Linked DNA regions of Homo sapiens: region 1 is linked to region 2. Evidence: promoter capture Hi-C in human tissues and cell types (Jung and others, 2019). All regions are on one chromosome and are shown on one strand. The core of a region is centred on a gene start or on the middle of the fragment in contact, and the rest is flanking DNA. Distances in the headings are between cores, read along the strand shown. Region 1 holds the start of KRTAP8-1 (keratin associated protein 8-1). Region 2 holds the start of KRTAP27-1 (keratin associated protein 27-1).

Region 1 (2,700 bases), core at 83-2,582, 480 kb after region 2:
TGTACTATACATAAGATGTTTTCAATAGAAGGATTGAGACTTTTTTTATCTGGCTTATAAAAGGAAATTGCTCCCTTCCCTAAAGGAACACAGAGAAAAGCTGATACATCTTCAGAAATATTCATTACAGCTCATATCTTTTAAGTGAAACTCGCTATCTGGTGTTGATTCTATAAAGATTAAGAAACTTGTCATGGTTGTGAATAACCCAGGTGCTTCAAAGCTACAAAATAGACACCTTAGATGGTTTGATATAGGGGATTTATCCCTTCACCTTAAAAACTCTCAGATTTCCAAAGGATGTCTGTGGCTTCTCTATTACTCAATGCTCCAGCATCCTTCATTAGGGGGCATGGCACTTTAGTCTATAATCCTTAGTCCCTGGGAAAGGGAACACAGTGGATTTCATTTGGACTAACATGGAAGTGACTGAAAAAGTTCCTCCTGTGTTGGGTTTTCTTGCGGAGGAGCAGAAGTAGTGAGATGAGAAGGGGACCCCGAGCAATAAATGGTGCTCCATTGGGTTGGAGGTGGGCATCATAAAATTTAAAGAAGGTTCAAACAGGCAACCTTTTAAGTCATTACCTGCAACCCACCCTCTTACCTGCTTATCACACAGGATCAGTAATTCTTTGCTTTCTGGCTGTTCCTAATGCCCACATGAGAAAAATAAATTCACTTCCCCCCCACCACCCATGTAACAGAAAATATGCACACACCAAGAAAGGAAACTTCGCTCTAGCATGAGAATATTATACCAGCTGAGACAAATTTATTGAGATTTTGATAGACATATCCATGACTTCATCACAAGTCATGAGTGTCATGGAAAATTCAAAAGTAGCTCATGACAAGTGGGAGGTCAAATTTCCGAAAATGTCCCAGAGAACATCAGCCAGGGGAGGCAGCTTGAGGAAGCGTCTGCTTTTTCATTTTCCTCCCCTGGGACTCGAGGTAAGTTGGAAAGCAGTGTCTCTGAGGTTGATGAGCAAATGAGGACTGAAGGAGTGGATACGGGGGGAACCTGGAGATGTGGGGCTCAGCCTTCAAGGGAGAGAAGATGCTACACCTCGGGGATTTCAGCCAATCAGTAGAGAGCAAATGGCGAGTATCTCCTGTAGCCGAAAGCCCCACAGCCGTTGTAGCCATAGCCGAAGCCATAGCCCACTGGAGAGTAGGTGCTGCCATAGCCACAGCCAACGCTATATCCCAGCGGGTAGCCATAGCTGCCCCAGTAGCATCCTGGGAAGACAGCCCCGGGGAAGTTGTCGCAGAGCATGGTGTCGGGAGTGGAGGGCTTAGGTAGCAACAGAGTGCGTTTCCTCAGTGGGATGGATTCCTAGTCTCAGAACCTTCTTTATATATCCCAGCTCTGGTGGGTGGTGAAAAACACAAAGCCCTCATTTTCATTCTTGACACCAATTTACATTCTAAAAAGCTCATTAACTTGTTTTGCTCTTGCTTATGATGTCTTTACAGTGGCTTAAGAAAGCTCTCGTGTGATGCAATACAGGGAGAAGATGCCTTTAAACAAATTATTTCCCTTCCTAAAAAAAAAAAAATTATTGCCAGGACTTCAAAGCACTCTGTCTTATAGACCCCATATAACTCTGTAAGCAGGTATATAATATCAAGAAATATTCTGAGGTTGTTAGCTGTTATGCAGTCCTCTTGCTCTCTGAATTTCCACAACACACAGTTGAAATTCAATAAATATGTGTTAAATACATTAATATATAAAATAACAAATGGATAGTGAGTCTATCTCAAAATTCTCAAAATTAAAGTATGTCTTAGTATTCACCTGCTTCAAGGATTCTCTTTTTTGGAATATGAAAGACAAGTGCAATGGAACTCATGAGAAAGAGTCTTTTTTTTTTCCTCTACTACAGCTACCGTGTTTGGGAAACTGGTTAAAAGTGTAATCTTAATCATAGTCCCCTCCTAAACTATACCTAACATCACATTTCTAGAAGACTACTTGAATTAATAGTATTGAGATTTTAAAACGGAGTATTTGGATTAATCCTTGTACTGAATTGTCAAACAAATTTAATTTTTTGGCCTGAAACATATTTCAAACTAAACATTGAAACTAATAAGGTAAACACAGAAAAATGAATTAAAAAATTTATTGTAAGATTTAAAATTTTTTTTCTCTTAGATCTAATGAAACTAGATTGTCTGACAAATGTGATGATATTATAAAGGGCCAGATGACAACATGAAATCAGTTATTTCACTTTTACAATGATCATGCACCCCAGGATAAAGAAGGAATGTTATTCCTTTCTAAACAGAGAGTCAGTTCTCAAGCATGAGTTAAAGGAGGGATAAGGCTGATCAAAACTATCTTGGATCATGTAAGACCTGATATATTATTCTCAGACACCTGCATTAAGATTTCTTACAGTGGCACTTAGTAGAGAACTTACAGAACAAATACCAAAGAGGGCATATGGAACAGAAATAGGCACAGAGATAATAGGAATCATTCTAGAAGGCCACAAAACAGATATGTATTACACATGAGCTCTCCCAGATTTTACTTCATAACCCAGAGGTAACTTTGCTCCCTGCTATCAGCAGCTAGGAATCAAAGGCTGAATCCAAGAACAAGATGAGACACTTGGAAAATTCAAAACCATGCCAGTGTTCTAGCCAGCAGTAGACTAATTACAGCAGAGGCATTTTTTTTAA
Region 2 (3,022 bases), core at 523-3,022:
AAAAATTGAAAGATCAATTTAAGAACACACCAAAAGTTTCAGAATAGCTAAGCTACCTAAATAAAATTAATCAATTTCAAACATCTGACTCTATGGTCTTATGATGTTCATATGAGTATATTTTCCATCTTCTGTTGACTACCACCATGAGTTATTCTTTTCTGGTTCACACTATAAAAATTATAACAAGAGGATATGTTCTCTTTTCTTCTAAATATTTATACTATTTTCATTAGGTAACAAACGAAGAAACAAAAAGCCTGTAACATAACACCTGCAAAAGGATTGAATAAAAATAATAGTGTGACAAGTCCAAATTTTGCTTCCAAAGAAAGCAAATTTATTTAATACAAAGAATATTTTCCAAACTCAAAAAATACTTAAGAAATAATGAAAACAGGAAAAAAACAAACAACCAAAAAAACAACGGGAACGAAATGAAGTGAAGATTCTAAACTTCAATTCATTCTATTTAAAGGCTTCTGGTTGCTACGTGGTTATAAAGCCCATGGAGGTGAAATTCAAAATTACCTTGCTCTATTCGAACAATAGACTTAATCTTCTAGTTAATTTGAGAATGTTGTGATTCAATGGCTAAAATAACAGATGGCCAGTGAGTAGGCCTGGATTTTAGTTGTGGTTCTGATGTTATTAACTACTTGGGCAACCTCTGATAGAGTTGAACCTATCGTAATTCACAGGACTAGGTAGGCTTTTAGGTTTGGTTCCAATATTTTATGAATTTCTGAGACTAGTAGCACATTACTTAATAAACCAGATCCAATGCTAAGTATTTCCAAAGAAAACAACTTGCAGTTAAAGTGTGATGTTTCCTTTAAGTATTCATGTTATTTCCTGGCTACAGCTCTTATTGCTTAATAACAAATCGTATCCTACTGCTCTAAAATAGCTAGCATGCTTTCCAACCCCAGATTACCACTAGACATACCCAAAAGAAAAACAAGAAAAAAAATCTTGTCTTTGGAGACAGTAGTAAAATAAGACATGTTCATTTACTAACAAACACACACAACATTTTTTATTTAAAGAAATACAAAATATCTAAGTATCTCAAAAATAAATTCATCCAAATGAGAATATAAGCCATCTCCCCTACAGATCTTCACTTACTAGGCAATTGAGAACCACCAGTAACACAGCAAGTTGGTTCAACTCCTGGAGAAGATTCCAGGAGTTGTGGCTCAGGTGCAACATTGACCAGAGGTCTACAGGAACTGGATTCAGGGTTCTGAGACTGACACTGACATTGGCTAGATGCACGTTCCAGAGTTTCGAAATTTTTAGACTTAGAAGTCTTGGGTGGGCAACTGTTTCCCTTGAGGCTTGCAGGTTGGCAGCTCTGGGCTACAAAACCCATCTGCTGAGTGCTTTCTGATTGGCAAGGCTGAGAAACACAAGCCAGCCCTGCTGAAGAACTTTCTGATTGGCACGCTGTCCTTTCGCAGGGCCTGGAATTGGAGTAAGTAGTTTGGACAACTCCGGGGAAGCAGTTACTTTGCACACAGCTATCGTCTGTGAATAAGTCCTGTTCACAATTGGTCATTTGGCAGCTGGTGGTTTCATTGCAGGTTTCTTGAAAGTTGTCCAGGAAACAGGTTCTGCTATGGAAGCTGCTGGGCAAACACAATCTGTCTTCAAAGGTTATAGGATTAGTGCCATGTGTGATGGCAGAGAGTGGTGGGGCATTGTGGAAGCTCCTGAGTGAATGGCAGTGGCTATGAGGCATATTGCTAAAAATCCTTAAAGATGGTCATAAGGACTCAACATGCTGAGTTTGAAAATTAAATTCTTTGGTGCGGCGATTATATACTCAGAAACCTGGGTGTTGGCTTCTCAAGACTTCTTTGCAACTCATTGCTTAAACTAATTTGAAGGATAACATCTCATTACCACTTTGGTTATATATGCAGATGATGTCTTATTAACAAAGATGTAAGTCCATTTTGAATCTTCAAAATGGCTTTTATGTTAGCTCCAAAGATGACTCATTCAAGGTGGGGTTGGTCAAATAAGAGTCTAAACCTGTCCAACCAAGCTAACATTTTTTTTTTTTTTTGCCACCATGACTCTGCACATTGGTAAGTGGACAATGAGAAATGCATGAGGCAGTGGCCAACTGAATACTGATTAACATTTAGCACTGGTTTTGAGAGCTGCCAATGTAGCAGAATGTGGTAATTTGATGTTCAAGACATTTAAAGTTAGAATTGGATCCAGGTTGAGCCCAATCTCATTCCACTCAGATATTGTTCTCTCCAGTGGACCAGAATGTGAGAGGACTTTGTGATCACATTCCTTCTCAGTGTTCATGCAAAGTACTGAGTGTGGCCATTGCCCAATAAATACTTGTCTTTTGCCTAACATTTCGTTTCCCTAATCTCCTTGAAAGCCAAGTTTAAATGCGTCCTTTTCCTGAAGTCTTCCCCAATCTTCCCATTTAGGAGTTATTTCTTCCTTTTCTGAATTACTAATGGATTTAATTCCTTTTTTCTATACTTGACAAAGTGGTGTGTTTACTTGTGTTTGTGCTTCTCAAAGGTTGATTATTTTCCTTTATAATGAACCTTCTTCAGATATTTTTCATCTTTATTCTGTGCTTTTTTTATTGACTGCAGACAGATGATCAGTTCCTATGTTTATCGCATTAGGACACCGTTCTTAGCATAGTTTCATACTCATGGCACAGAGCCAACCAGCACAATTTCTATAACATATTCTATAATATATTTGGCTCAGCTAATGACAATAAAATAGAAGTATAGTCTTAGTGCACTAACTAGACTCCCTTTCTAAGGTCTGAAGAAGCCCAAGAACATTCAGCAATTCTCAGTAATTCTTATGCAAACACTTCCTTGAAAGACTGAGGATATTATAAATTTAAAAGGGCACATCTGAATACTTTCAGCTTTATAGGCTGCACACTCATCTTGTATACAATACCTTTGTAACACACGCAAGTCATTTATAATTTTGAATAACCACACTTGTATGTTTAAAGATC

Evidence for each region. The method cuts DNA at HindIII sites, captures the fragments that hold promoters and counts their contacts. A contact is called where the count stands out against the background at its distance.
Region 1: a contact is called between the fragment with the promoter of KRTAP8-1 here and the fragment with the promoter of KRTAP27-1 in region 2, in 4 of the 25 tissues and cell types used here (H1 embryonic stem cells, hippocampus, liver and 1 more).

The regions. Positions count from the first base shown.
Region 1 is chr21:30,811,942-30,814,641 of GRCh38, forward strand. KRTAP8-1 (keratin associated protein 8-1) reads right to left here and starts at 1,333. Exons shown (of 1, transcript NM_175857.4): 1 at 756-1,333. The coding sequence starts at 1,279. The coding sequence ends at 1,088. The HindIII fragment of the contact is 6,797 bases long and covers 1-2,700 here.
Region 2 is chr21:30,335,922-30,338,943 of GRCh38, forward strand. KRTAP27-1 (keratin associated protein 27-1) reads right to left here and starts at 1,773. Exons shown (of 1, transcript NM_001077711.1): 1 at 1,092-1,773. The coding sequence starts at 1,747. The coding sequence ends at 1,124. The HindIII fragment of the contact is 14,979 bases long and covers 1-3,022 here.